Linked DNA regions of Homo sapiens: region 2 is linked to region 1. The links are contacts of gene promoters, found by promoter capture Hi-C in human tissues and cell types (Jung and others, 2019). All regions are on one chromosome and are shown on one strand. Each heading gives the region's core, a stretch centred on a gene start or on the middle of the fragment in contact. The rest is flanking DNA. Distances are from core to core; before and after follow the strand shown.

The links. The method cuts DNA at HindIII sites, captures the fragments that hold promoters and counts their contacts. A contact is called where the count stands out against the background at its distance.
Region 2: a fragment that was not itself captured here is called in contact with the fragment with the promoter of RGN in region 1 in 1 of the 25 tissues and cell types used here (IMR-90 fibroblasts).

Annotation. Positions count from the first base shown.
Region 1 is chrX:47,072,240-47,080,148 of GRCh38, forward strand. RGN (regucalcin) reads left to right here and starts at 6,204. Exons shown (of 8, transcript NM_152869.4): 1 at 6,204-6,470. The HindIII fragment of the contact is 11,720 bases long and covers 877-7,909 here.
Region 2 is chrX:46,561,370-46,568,777 of GRCh38, forward strand. It overlaps the pseudogene MKI67P1. Among named protein-coding and RNA genes, the nearest start is that of CHST7, 8.7 kb to the right of the region's middle. RefSeq lists an enhancer at 738-1,267. The HindIII fragment of the contact is 5,107 bases long and covers 3,525-7,408 here.

The DNA.
Region 1 (7,909 bases), core at 4,954-7,453:
GGAGGATTGCTTGAGCCCAGGAGTTCGAGACTAGCGTGGCCAACATAGTGTGACCCCCATCTCTACAAAAAATAAGAAAAAAAATTAGCCAGGGGTGGTGATGTGTGCCTATAGTCCTAGCTAATCACAAGGCTGAGATGGGAAGATTGCTTGAGCCCAGGAGGTCAAGGCTGCAATAAGCCACAGTCCTGCCACTGCACTCCAGCCTAGGTGACAGAGCAAGACACTGTCTCAAAAAATTTTTTTAAAGGGTGGGGAGACTAACCCTTGTCCTACTACAGACAATTTTCTTGGAGCCACCTGTAGATCAGCAAAATCCTGGTAAATGGTGAAGATCAGAAAATCATCGATTCACATCCTATGGCCTTTACTTAATCTGACCTTGGACAAAAGGGGAAATTAAAAATGCTCATCATCACTGGCCATCAGAGAAATGCAAATCAAAACCACAATGAGATACCATCTCACACCAGTTAGAATGGCAATCATTAAAAAGTCAGGAAACAACAGGTGCTGGAGAGGAGGTGGAGAAATAGGAACACTTTTACACTGTTGGTGGGACTGTAAACTAGTTCAACCATTGTGGAAGTCAGTGTGGCGATTCCTCAGGGATCTAGAACTAGAAATACCATTTGACCCAGCCATCCCATTACTGGGTATATACCCAAAGGACTATAAATCTTGCTGCTCTAAAGACACATGCACACGTATGTTTATTGCGTCATTATTCACAATAGCAAAGACTTGGAAACAGCACAAATGTCCAACAATGATAGACTGGATTAAGAAAATGTGGCACATATACACCATGGAATACTATGCAGCCATAAAAAATGATGAGTTCATGTCCTTTGTAGGGACATGGATGAAATTGGAAATCATCATTCTCAGTAAACTATCGCAAGAACAAAAAACCAAACACCGCATATTCTCACTCATAGGTGGGAATTGAACAATGAGATCACATGGACACAGGAAGGGGAATATCACACTCCGGGGACTGTGGTGGGGTGGGGGGAGGGGGGAGGGATAGCATTGGGAGATATACCTAATGCTAGATGACGAGTTGGTGGGTGCAGCGCACCAGCATGGCACATGTATACATCTGTAACTAACCTGCACAATGTGCACATGTACCCTAAAACTTAAAGTGTAAAAAAAAAAAAAAAAAAAGATCAACAGCCAAAAAAAAGAAAGAAAAGCAGTCTGTGACATCCAAAATCCGCCATGGCACCCACAGCTAGGCCTTGGCATTCTCCTGCTGAACATGAACAATTTCAGAGGTCACCAACATCAGACAAGGCCATTCTGGGACTGCAATGGATCAAGACAAAAACAAGATTAATCATAGACTGACCAAATGACAAAAATGGACTGGACCTGATGGCTCATGCCTGTAATCCCAGCATTTCAGGAGGCAGAGGTGGAAGAATCACTTGAGCCCAGGAGTTCGAGACCAGCCTGGACAACACAGGGAGACCTCATCTCTACAAAAAATTAAAAATCTGGGCCAGGTGTGGTGGCTCACACCTGTAATCCCAGCACTTTTGGAAGGCTGAGACAGGAGGATTGCTTAAGGCCAGGAGCTCGAGACCAGCCTGGGCAAAACAAAGTGAGACCCCGTCTCTACTAAAAAAAAAAAAAAAAATCACAGGCCGGGCACAGTGGCTCACGCCTGTAACCCAGCACTTTGGGAGGCCAAGGTGGGCAGTTCACGAGGTCAGAAGATCGAGACCATCCTGGCTAATACGGTGAAACCCCGTCTCTACTAAAAATACAAAAAATTAGCCAGGTGTGGTGGCACGTGCCTGTAGTCCCAGCTACTCAGGAGGCTGAGGCAGGAGAATTGCTTGAGCCCAGGAGGTGGAGGTTGCAGTGAGTGGAGATCACGCCACTGCATTCCAGCCTGGGCAACAGAGCAAGATTCCGTCTCAAAAAAAGGAAAGAAAGAAAAAGAAAGAAAGAAAGAAAGAAAGAAAGAAAGAAAGAAAGAAAGAAAGAAAGAAAGAAAGAAAGAAAGGAAGGAAGGAAGGAAGGAAGGAAGGAAGGAAGGAAGGAAGGAAGGAAGGAAGGAAGGAAGGAAGGAAGGAAAGAATGAATCACAAAAATGACTCAACATCGCCCCATCCTGGCTTATCTGAGTGAGGGCTGCTTGTTCTTCAGCCCATTCTCCTTGTCTTCTAGATGAAAATTAAAATGCCCAATCATGGAGTCACCCCTACTCCCTGACAGCATTCAATCCTTGGACTCGCCCCAAAATCACATCACCTAATACAAGGCCAAATTCTATAGTAGTTTCTTTTTAAAAAAAAAAAACAACTTTTTTTTTTGAGACAGAATCTCGCTCTGTCACCCCAGCTGGAGTGCAATGGCACGATCTCCGCTCACTCACTGCAACCTCCACCCACCAGATTCAAGCCCCAGCCCCCCAAGTAGCTTGGATTACAGGCATGCACCGCCACATGCACTAATTTTTGTATTTTTTGTAAAGACAGCGTTCCCTATGTTGGTCAGGCTGGTCTTGAACTCCAGACCTCAAGTGATCCACCCTCCTCTGCCTCCCAAAGTGCTGGAATTACAGGCATAAACCACTGTGCCTGGCCTATAGTAGGTTCTTTCTAACAGCCTGTTACTGAGATGTCCCAGGGTACCCTGTGGTGTGTGTTCTCCCTCCTCACTGTAAAGAGTCAATGAACCCAGATGTGTTTGACTGCAGGTGGTCTGCGAATAAAGAGCACTTATATTGTAATAAAAGATCCCTATGTATCCTCAGAGAGCTCCTGATAAAGCAGGAGAGACACATAAACCAATGGATCTCAGTGTGATGAGTAATGTAATAAAACATAAAGAGGCGCTCCTGGAAGAGCAATAGGTCAGAGAGCGAGGAGGGTCAGCGAAGTCTTCCTGATGGAGGGGACATTCAACTGACTCTTAGTTAGAAGTTAGTCCAGTGCAGAAGGAAGCATTGGATTAGTGGTCAGAGAGAAGTGTTCTAGGCAGAGGGAATAGCAAGTTCAAAGTCAAGAAGCAGAGAACATGGCTAGAACATGAGAGAGGTCAAGAAGGGACTCCCCACAAATTCGAAGAGCCTTGTGTGCTCGGGGTCCATTGCAGGGTGCTATGACTACACTTTTTTTTTTATTTTATTTATTATTATTTTTTGAGACAGTGTCTCACTCTCTTGCCCAGGCTGGAGTGCAGTGGCATGATCTTGGCTCACCGCAACCTCCGCCTCCCGGGTTCAAGCAATTCTCCTGCCTCAGCCTCTCAAATAGCTGGGATTACAGGCACACGCCACCATGCCCAGCTAGTAGAAATGGGGTTTCACCATGTTGGCCAGGCTGGGACCTCAAGTGATCCACCCGCCTCGGCCTCCCAAAGTGCCGGGATTACAGGCATAAGCCACCATGCCCAGCCAATTTAAAAAGATTCATAACCACATATTATGATCAAAGTTAACAAATCAACATTCGTTTGCCTGCAGATGGTGAGGATACAGCATCACTTTTGTAGCATTGCCAAAAAGGCATAGCCTGAATTGACCATGAGGAAAAATCAAGGAATCCCAAATTAAGGGACATTCTACATTTTGAATTCCAAAAATGTCAATGATGTCAGGAAACAAAAATAAAAGGCTGAGGAGCTGTTCCAGGTGAAAAGCAACTAAATGCAGCTAAATGCAATGCCTCGCCCTGGATTGGGTTTGGGCATGAAACATCTTTTTTCCTTTTATTATAAAGGACATTAGTTGGACAATTGGTGAGACTCCAATAGATAATCCTGTATCAATGTTAATTTACCTGATTTTGACCATCGTGCTGTGTTTATGGAAGAGAATACCCTTGCTTTCAGGAAACACACACTGAACTACAGTATTTAAAGGTAAAGGAGCATCATGTCTGCAACTTGCTCCCAAACTGGTCAGAAAAAAATTATATATAGATGTATATGTAAATAAGAGAGAGAAGGGTAAAGCAAATGTGGTAAACTTAACATTTGGGGAATCTGGGTGAAGGGTAATCATGAATTTTTTCTATTATTCTTGCAGCTTTTCTGTAAAACTGAAATTTTTTTCTAAATAAAGGTACCCCTCTCAGCAAAAAAAAAGAAAAAGAAAAAAAAGCATATAGTTTTTGTTGTTGTTGTTTTGTTTTTAGAGACAGGATCCCACATCCCACTCTGTCACCCAGGCTGAAGTGCAGTGTCGCTATCACGGCTCACTGCAAGCTTGATCTCCCAGGCTCAAGCGATGTTCCCACCTCAGCCTCCTCAGTAACTGGGATCACAGCCACCACGCCTGGCTATTTTTTTTTTAATAGAGATGAGATCTTTCTGTGTTGCCCAGGCTGGTGTCAAACTCCTGGCCTCAAGTGGTCCTCCTGCCTCAGCCCCCCAAAGTGCTGGGATTACAGGGGTGAGCCACGGTGCCCAGCCTGAAAAGCATATAGTTGAACAACCTCTATGTGTCAGCACTGTGGCAGGACCCAGGGAGGTGAGGGTGAATAAGATACATCCCCTCCCCTGCAAGACTCACGGTCTAGCAGGTCATTTTGGCAGCAGATCCACAGGGATGAGATGAGGCCTCCGGGAAGATTAAAACAATCTAGGCAAGAAATGGGGAAAGCCTGAATGAATTAAGGCAGTGCCAACATAGAAGGACATTAAAGGGACAATTCTATGACCTGGTGACTAACTGGACTTGAGTTAGGGACCAAGAGGAGGCTCGCGAGGTGTCAGGGCTTCTTGCACAGCCAGTTGGCTGCACCACAGCCCATTTCCCAGGACAGAGTGCTCAGGAGGTTGGTGGGAAATGATGTGATTGGTTTGGGTCAGCTCAGTTAAGCTGCTGGCCTGTATCCTGGGGGCGACATCTGGGCTGAGATAAGGTTAGGGAGACATCAGCACTGAGGAAGTAGAGGAAGAGAGTTATTTTTGTTTGTTTGTTTTTGAGACAGTCTCACTCTGTCACCCAGGCTGGAGTGCAGTGGCATAAACTCAGCTCACTGTAGCTTCAACCTCCTGGACTCAAGTGATCCTCTTGCCTCAGCCTCCTGAGTAGCCGGAACTATAGGCATGCACCACCACACCCAGAAATACATATATATGTTTGAGAAGTAGTTTCACTCTTGTTGCCCAGGCTGGAGTGCAATGGCACAATTTCAGCTCACTGCAACCTCCGCCTCCCGGATTCAAGCAATTCTCCTGTCTCAGCCTCCCGAGTAGCTGGGATTACAGGCATGTGCCACCACGCCCGGCTAATTTTGTATTTTTAGTAGAGACGGGGTTTCACCATGTTGGTCAGGCTGGTCTCAAACTCCTGACCTTAGGTGATCTGCCTGCCTCAGCCTCCCAAAATGCTGGGATTACAGGCATGAGCCACCACACTTGGCCAGTTTTGTTTTGTTTTGTTTTGTTTTGTTGTTTTTTGGGTTTTTTTAAATTTTTAGTAGAGACGAAGTCTCACTTTGTTGCCAGGTTCATCTCAAACTCCTGGGCTCAAGCGATCCACCCTCCTCGGCCTCCCAAAGCACTGAGATTATAGGCCTGAGCCACTGTGCCGGCCCTGGCCATTTTTTTTTTTAATATGGGTTATTTGGAGAAAGCCCAGACTGTCAGATGGCAGGACCAGGAATACATTTAGGCTGAGAATGGGGTTGTGGAGCTGTGTTGTTGAGGAATGTGTTTTCCATATGATTTGAAAATGAAATCGAGCCTTTCCTCTTCCCCCACCAAAAACGTTTTTGCAAGAGTTGGCCTTCAGCCACCAGGGTCTTCTCCACTAGGATGGAGAGGAGCTTTGTTCTTTCCTTTTTAACCTGTTTGGGTTTAACCGTCCCAGTCTCTCTCTGTTCGGCATTTAACAACTTTTCTTGGTTGAAGTAAGAGGTAAACTAGCTATTCGTCCAAACTCCAAAGCTCAGGTTCACTGGGCCGTAAGCCTGTACCCACCATCCCCGGGCCTGCCAGGGGCGGCTTTGCAGGATTCTTCCAGCCGCGGGGGACGGGGACGGGGACGGGGCGGGGTCCCAGGCCCATGCCATCCACCTGCCAAGCCGCCGGGTCCCGGGAGGCGTTTCCCCTCCCCTCGGCCCGCTGCCTGACCTTCGAGCCGCCTGAGAAATCTCCATCCTGGCGAGTGCCCGAGCCAGGCCGGCCTCCCCGCCCCCTCCCTGGAAAGGAAAGGCCCCGGCGACAACAGAGCCAGACCCGCTCATCCCGATCTCCCAGAAGGCGACTGACAGCTGACTGCCAGAAGGAGATCGCGCCAGGAGACTGACTGCTCTGTGCCCACCCGGGGACCCGGGCCCGTTCAGCCGGGCTGGCTGGTGCGCCCTCTGCAAAGCCTGCGCCAGGGAGGAGGCAGGCTCAACCTTCAGATTCCCAGGGCCTCTCTGTCGCTGTCGCCGTCGCCGTCGCCCGAGGTCCCAGCGGCTCTACCAGATTGTTGTGGAGGCCTCTCACCCGCACAGGTACCCCGGGTGCAGCGCGGGCACCTGAAGCCCCGTCCCCGCTCCCTGCTGCCCAGCCACCCCTTTGTGGTCACGGGCCGGGCCTAAATGGAACATTTGGCACCCCCGTCCCCTCCCCACCGGCTTCTACTAGGGAGCATGGGGTTAAAAGTCGCTATTGCAAAAGTCGTGCCACTGCTCTTGAGCCTTATCTAAGACTGATAGGATGAAGGCCTTTGTAGTCTGAACACTGCCCCCCACCCCCGCTTTTTTTTTTTTTTTTTTTTCCGAGACAAGGTCTCAGTCTGTCGCCCAGGCTGGAGCGCCATGGCCCAATCTCAGCTCACTGCAACCTCCTCCTCCCAGGTTCAAGCGATTCTCCGGCCTCAGCCTTCCTAGTAGCTAGGACCACAGGCTCGAACCACTAAGCCCGGCTAATTTTTTGTATTTTTTGTAGAGACGGGCTTTCACCATGTTGCCCAGGCTGGTCTCAAACTCCTGACCTCAATGTTCCTCCCACCTCAGCCTCCCAAAGTGCTGGAATTACAGGCACGAGCCACCAGCACCGGCCTGAGCCCATTTTTAATAGCCAAAAAACATTTCAAATGCTGCTGCAGATGCAGGCAGTTTGTATTTGGGACCAGTTTGGGCTGAGGTTTTTTTGTTTGTTTTTTTTTTTGTTTTGTTTTGGTTTGGTTTGGTTTGGTTTCTGTTTTTGTTTTGTTTTGTTTTGTTTTTTTGTTTTTTTGGTTTTTTTTTTGAGACGGAGTCTTACTCTGTCGCTCAGGCTAGAATGCAGTGGCGCAATCTCGGCTCACTGCAACCTCTGCCTCCCGGGTTCAAACGATTCTCCTGCTTCAGCCTCATGAGTCGCTGGGATTACAGGCACCCGCCACTGTGCCCAGCCAATTTTTTTGTATTTTTAGTAGAGATGGGGTTTCACCATGTTGGTCAGGCTGGTCTTGAACTCCTGACCTCATGATCCACCCAGCTCGGCCTCCCAAAGTGCTGAGATTACAGGCATGAGCCACCATGCCCGGCCTGTGTTTCTTTTTTAAAATGTAGTTTATTGAAGGAAATATTAGATCAAACATTATTTTTCTTTTTTCCCTCTCTATTCATTTGCCCATCATGTGTAGGACCACTTACTTCAAAGCAGATAGCTACCCTGGGAGAAGGATGAAGATGCAGGCCATTTTTATTTATTTATTTAGAGACAGGTTCTCGCTCTGTTGCCCAGGCTGGAGTGCAGTGGCATGATCACGGCTCATTGCAGCCTCCACCTCCTGAACTCAAATGATCCTCCCACCTCAGGCTCCCGAGTAGCTAGGACCACAGGCATGTGCCACTACACCCGCTAATTTTTTGTTGTTTTGTAGAGTCAGGGTCTCACTATGTTGCCCACACCAGTCCCAGACTCCTGGGCCCAAGCAATCTTCCTGCCTCAGCCTCCTAAAGAG
Region 2 (7,408 bases), core at 4,828-7,327, 510 kb before region 1:
AAGTGCTTGCTGCAGACTGGCTTTTCATCTTTCTTGCTCTCAAACACATGGAGTCTGAATTTCCTGCTTCTCCTTTCCCTTCCTGATTCTGCACGAGAACCCCCGCACTCTTCTGCCCTCTGCTCTCCTCTGCCACTTTAGGCTGGGAGCTCTTATTCTGTCTAACAGACCTCAAGCACCTTTTGTTTTCACTGACTTTGCCCCTAGGTATGGGTTTCTGGGCTCCATCATCTGGATTTTGAATGTCCATGTCTTGGGAGGTCTTCATGGGCTTGTTTTCATTTCAGTTTATTTGAATTCTTTCTGCTAATACAATGACCTTAGTTATTTGCTGTTCTACATCAGTCTTACTTTGGCGTCTGGAGAGCAGGGACATTCCCTTATTTTCAGGGACTGAGTCTTGTAATTCGTATTCCTCTTTGTTGGTTTTCATGTTATTGCTGTTCAGATCTTCTGCAGGTTCAATTCTTTTTGCAGAAGTCCTCAGACTTCTCTTCATGATGACCAAGGGTTCGGGTGATTTGCCTCTCACCCTGGGAGCAACCCTCTCTGCTTCTTGCTGGCTGGCAGCTCCTCTATGATTTCCTCTGGTGCAGGCATGCAGTGCGGCCTCTTGGTTCCTGTGACACTTCCATCTTTTCCACATCCCCTCTTGAAGGGCAGTGGGGGCAGGGAGGTGTTGCTTTTGCTTTGTGATTTTACAGTCTCTGGTGCCTACCAGGTCTCCCACGGGTTCTACTTTAGGGGCCTGAAGAACTCTTCTGGATATTTTTAGAGGTTTTCCACTGTCAGGTGCTTGCTTTGGAGCACTTGTAAAGCTATCAGCACCATTTGCCAGTTCCTCAGTGTGGCCTGGTGTTTGAGAGAGCTCTTGGAAGCTGGCCAGATCTTCTAGGGGTTGGGCCTTTTCCTTGGGCACTCTTGGCAATCTCCTGCTGCCAGTTACATTTTCTGGGTCCAGCTTCTGCTTTGCAGGTTGCTTAAATGCTTTCATGCCTTTGCCCTCACCTTCTGGTTCTTTATTGGTGTGCGTGGTCTCCCCTGATGTTTGTGTGAGCTTGCCGACTGCTAATAGCTCTTCTTTCACTTCTACTTTCTGGCCACAAGCCCTGGGCCATTTCTTTGAGCTTGTTGCAGTGTCTACTAGTTCTGGTGGTGATTTGCAGGGTATTTTGGTGGTTTTGTCATGAGTCATTGATTCTTCAGTATGACCTGGTGCTGGGTCTTTGAAGCCAGCCAGGTCTTCTAGGGCTTGCGCCTTTTCCCTGGGTGCTCTTGGCCATCTCCTGCTGCCACTTACACTTGCTGCTGGAGCCAGTGTCTGCTTTGCAGATTCCTTAAATGCTCTGATGCCTTTATCTTCACCTACTGGTCCTTTGCTTCCACGGTTTATTGCCCATTTTTATATTGGATTGTTTGTTTCCTCATTGTTTGGAGAGCTCTTTGTATATTCTGGATACAAGTCCTTTGTTAGATATGTTATTTATAAATAGTTTCTCCCAGTATATTGTTTTTTCATCCTCTTAGCATCTTTTGCAGAGCAACAGCTCATAATTTTCATGAAGTCCAACTTATCAAATTTTTCTGTTATGGATAGTGCTTTTGGTGTCATATCTAAGAATTATTGGCCTAACACCAGAAAACAAAGACTTTCTTCTGTGTTTTCTTCTAAAAGTTATACATCTTATATTTAGGTCTATGATTGATTTTTTTTTTTTTAAACAGGGTGTCGCTCTGTCACCCAGGCTGGAGTGCAGTGGTGTGATCGCTGCTGACTGCAACCTCTGCCTCCCAGGTTCAAGCCATCCTCCCACCTCAGCCTCCCAAGTAGCTCCCAGGCATGTGCCACCATGCCTGGCTAATTTTGTTTTTAATTTTATTTTTTGTAGAGACAGAGTTTCACCATGTTGCCCAGACTGGTCTCAAACACCTGGATTCAAGCAATCCACTCGCCTTGGCCTCCCAAAGTGCTGGGATTACAGGTATGAGCCACCAGGCCCAGCCAGGTCTATGATTAATTTTAAGTGAATTTTTGTAAAAAGTATGGGTAAATTTCTGCACTCTCTATTCTATTACATTGACCTACGTATCCATCCTTGCATCAATACCACACTGTCTTGAGTACTGTGGCTTTATAGTAAGTCTCAAAATTAAGTAGCATGAATCTTCCAATTTTGTTCTTATTTTTAAAAAATGTTTTGAATATTCTAATTTCTTTGCCTCTCCATGTAAATTTTAGAGTCACCATGCTGATATCTATAAAGAATCCTGCTGGGATTTGGACTGGAATTGTGTTGAATCTATAGATAAATTTTTAGAGTATTGACATCTTCACAATATTGAGTCTTCCAATCCATGAACACAGTTCTCCATACATTTCTAAATCTCCATATATTTAGCTCTCTTTTATTTCCTTCATCATTGTTTTGTAGTTTTCAGCACATAGATCTAGGACATATTTGTGAAATGTACACCTAAATATTTCATTTTTCTGGTTTTATTTTATTTTATTTTATTTTTAGATTGAATCTTGCTCTGTTGCCCAGGCTGGAGTGCGGTGGCACGACCTCAGCTCACTGAAACCTCTGCCTCCTGGGTTTAAGCAATTCTCGTGCCTCAGCCTCCTGAGTAGCTGGGATTACAGGCGCCTGCCACTATGCCTGGCTAATTTTTGTATTTTTAGTAGAGACAGAGTTTCACCATGTTGCCCAGGCTGGTCTTGAATTCCTGACCGCAAGTGATCCGGCTGCCTTGGCCTCCCAAAGTGCTGGGATTACAGGCGTGAGCCGCTGCACCTGGCCTTCTTTGGTATTATTGTAAATAGTACTTGTGCGGAGAAGAATGATGGCCCCTAAAGATATCCATGTCCTGATCCTTGGAACCTCTGTTTATGTTCTCTTACATAAATGGTGGCTCTCACAGATAGGTCAAGTCAATATCATGAAGATGTCAATTCTCCTTCCTATGTTATGTTATAAACTTACCAACTTTCAGTAAGAATACCAATAAGCTTTTATTCTGGACCTAAACAAGTTGATACTAAAGTTCATATGAAAAAATAAATATGCAAGAATAGCTACATGGTCTAAGTTTCTTGAACCCATCATGTTCCATTTCCACCTCATTCAGTCAGGTCCTTCTCCACCTTCAGATCTCTGCTCAAGCATCCCCTGTGGGAAGTCTTTACTACACACACACACACACACAGAGAAGACAGAGAGAGAGAGAGAGTGAGAGAGAGAGAGACAGAGAGAGAGAGACAGAGAGAGAGTGTGTGTGGGCAGATGTTTTTTTGAGTCTCGCTCTGTTGCCCAGTCTGGAGTGCGGTGGCACAATCTCGGCTCACTGCAACCTCCGCCTCCCAGGTTGAAGCAATTCTCCTGCCTCAGCCTCCCGAGTATCTGGGACTACAGGCGCCCGCCACCACACCTGGAAAATTTGTATTTTTTAGTAGAGACAGGGTTTCACCATGTTGGCCAGGCTTGTCTCGAACTCCTGACCTCAAGTGATCTACCCACCTTGGCCTCCCAAAGTGCTGGGATTACAGGCGTGAGCCACTGCGCCCAGCCCTGGGGCAGACCTTTATGTTATACACTCTCACAGAACTGCGTTCCTCTCCTTCAAGCACTTGGTTCAGTTTGGGGTTATTCACACATTAGGAGACTGATTTGGTTAAAGTTGGTCTCCTCTCTTAGGCTGGAAGGGACAACAGGGTCAGGGACTGTTTTGCTCATTGTGTACCTCCTCTGCCCAGCACAACCCCAGATACATGATTGCACTTGATACATATTTTTGAATAAATATTTGAATACATAAGAAAAAGTCTGGTCTCTAGGTCCATTGTTTTGAAAGTAGTAAAGATGTGATTTTAGCACCCCTATTTATAATGTTGGAAACCTCATGAAAAACAGAAAAGGAGATTGTAGAGGTAGATTAGAGCCAGACTGTGAAAATCCTTAGAAGGCATGTTGGCCAGGAGCAGTGGCTCACACCTGTAATCCCCACGCTTTGAGAGGCCAGGGCAGGAGAATCGCTTAAGCTTAGGAGTTTGAGACCAGCCTGGGCAACATAGTGAGACCCCATCTCCACAAAATATTAAAAAATTATCCAGGCCCGGTGACACACAGCTGTGGTCCCAGCTACTCAGGAGGCTGAGGTGAGAAGATCCTTTGAGCCTGGGAGGTTGAGGCTTTAGTGAGCCATGATCATACCCCTGCACTCCAGCCTGGGTGACAGAGCAAGATCCTGTCAGAGAGAGAGAGAGAGAAGGAGAGAGAGAGAGAGAGAGAGAGGATAGCAGAAAAAACGAATCAAAAGAAATCTTTTTTTCTTTTTCTCAGTCTAAAATGCTAGTCTTATTTTTTTCTCAGCCAAGCAGGCAGATTCTGCCTTCCCAATCTCTATTCATCTTTTTCTTTCCAACTGCCATCTATTTCAAATTCTCTGCTCTTTCATTCTGTCCCAATAGGTCTTCCTCTCTCAATCCCAATCTATGGGATCCCAGCAAGACTATTTTTGGAAAGTCATTTCTGCTAACGTTACTTACTCCCTCAATACAAATCATCAGTAGTTTGCTATCAAAGCTCAAATGTAAAGTGCTTCTTCCCAGCAGTCAATCAGACAACAAATGCTTGTTGAGCACCTACTATGTGCTTGACACCATGATAAGGTCTGGCATTCAAGACCTCTAACAACATAATTTTCAAACCTTAATGATTTGCATCATTATCCAAAGACCAATTGGAAGCCAAGACAGATTCTGAGCAGAGAAATGGCATTGACCGAAATCTATCACTGATTAAAAATTAGGCCGGGTGCAGTGGCTCATGCCTTTAATCTCAGCACTTTGGAAGGTCGAAACAGGCAGACCGCTTGAGCCCAGGAGTTCAAGACCAGCCTGGGCCACATGGTGAAATCTTGTCTCTACAAAAAAAGTAGCCAGGCGTGGTGGTGTGCGCCTGTAATCCCAGCTACTCGGGAGGCTGAGGAGAGAGGATCACTTGAGCCTGAGAGGCAGAGGTTTCAGTGAGCTGAGATCACACCACTGCGCTCCATGCTTGGCGACAGAGTGAGTCACAGTCTCAAAAAAAAAAAAAAAAATTAAAAGAGGGCAAAATAGAAACAGAGACTGGCTAGGCAGTTTCTACAGTGCTCTAGGGGACAGTTGGTCCTCTGAGCTAGGGTAGTAGCAATGGCAATGAAGATAAGTGAATGATTTGAAAGGACATTTAGGAGGTAAAACCCACCTGACTTGATGATAGATTGGATTGAAGAAGAGGGACTGAGGAAGAGGGAGATACCCAGAATGGCTCCTAAGTTTCTGACTGCATAATAGAATAGATAGTTTTATCATTCACATATTAAAATTGATATGCCATTGAGGCAACCAAGAGGGAATGTCAAGTGGGCAACTGGATTTCTAGGTGTGGAGCCCCAAGGAGAGGCTGGGGCTGGAAATGTCAATTTGGAGTCATTGAAGAGATCATAAAGTGAAAAGGAAGAGGGCCTGGGGAATCAGCTTCCCACAGCAGCAACAATGTACCGACTCATAAGACTTAAAGCTTACTCTATGGGATACACTGTTCTGGGATTATACACACACACACACACACACACACACACACACACACACCACACCCAGTTGTGCATTGTTTAATGATGGGGATGCATTCCAAGGAATGCGTTGTTAGGCGATTTCATCATTGTGCAAACATCATAAAGTGTACTTACATAAACCTAGATGGGATAGCCTATTACACACCTAGGCTATATGTACAGCATGTTACTGTACTGAATACTGTAGACAGTTGTAACATGAGATCATATTTGCGCATCTAAACATATCATCTAATCATAGAAAAGGTACAATAAAAATAAGGTATTAGAATCTTATGGGACCTCCCTTGTATATGCAGCTCATCATTGACAAAACATCAGGTGGCACATGACTGCATATATATATATATATATATATATATATATATATATATATATATAATTTAATTCTTACAACAACCCTGCAGGATAGGGGAGGATAGGTACTATTAGAACTAATGTTTGATAAATGAGGCACAGAGAGGTTCACTTACTTGCCCAAGGCCATAGAGCTGAAGTGGTGGAGCTGGCCTATGAACTTGGGTGGCCTCACTCCAAAGGATAAAGGATATCAACTTGGGTGGCCTGACTCCAAAGGTCAATCTCTCAAATGCTATGCTCTGAAGGTGTAGCTATGAACTAGGAGAACAGTTCACATGTGATGTCATAGAAGTTGGCAGAAGAGATGATTTGAAGGTGGGAACTGTCAACAGTGTTAAATGTTATTGATACATATGTACACTTACAATGTGTCAGTTAAAAATGTTATTGAAAGGTCAAGTAAGGTGAGCCATGAAAGTGTCCTGGATTCAGTAACATGGCACCAGGCATGGTGGCTCACATTTGTTATCCCAGCACTTTGAGAGGCCAACATAGGAGGACTGCTTGAGCCCAGGAATTGGAGACCAGTCTGGAATACATAGGAAGACTCCGTATCTACACAAATTAAAAATAAAAAAGTTAGCTGGGAGTGGTGGTGTGAATCTGTGATCCTAGCTAAACTCAAAAAAAAAAAAAAAACCATGGAAGCCATTGATAAGCTTAGAAAGAACTGATGATGTGGCAATATGGGGGCAGAACTCAGATTGGAGTGTGCTGAGGAATTGTTCCTGGACCAAGCCGAGGGTCGGACTGCTTATTCTCTCAGCCCAATTACAAGATGCAGGTGAACTGGGAAAGAAGAGAGTTTTTATTTCTGTAACCAGGTGCAGGGAGAAGGCCTGGAAATTATCACCAGACCAACTCAAAATTACAAAGTTTTCCAGAGCTTACATACCTTCTAAGCTACATGTCTACGTGTAAGTGTGCATTCATCTAAAGACATAAGTGATTAACTTCTTCTAATCTATAACTAAGGTCTGAGTCCTGAAGACCTTCCTCTGGAGCCTCAGTAAATTTACTTAATCTAAATGGATCCAGGTGCTGGGGTGATTGCCCTTATCTTATCTCCTGCTAAATCATGGAGGTTTGGGGAGTTCCTTCAGACCACTAATAACATGTGCTTAATCTTTTTAAATTTTATTTTATTTTTTTGAGACACAGTCTCACTCATTGCCCAGGCTGGAGTGCAGTGGCTCAATCTCGGCTCACTGCAACCTCCGCCTTCCAGGTTCAAGTGATTCTCCTGCCTCAGCCTCCCAAGTAGCTGGGATTACAGGTGCATGCCACGCCCGGCTAATTTTTGTATTTTTAGTAGAGACGAGTTTTCACCATGTTGGCCAAGCTGGTCTCGAACTCCTGACCTCAAGTGATCTGCCTGCCTCGGCCTCCCAAAGTGCTGGGATTACAGGCATGAACCACTGCACCCAGAGAA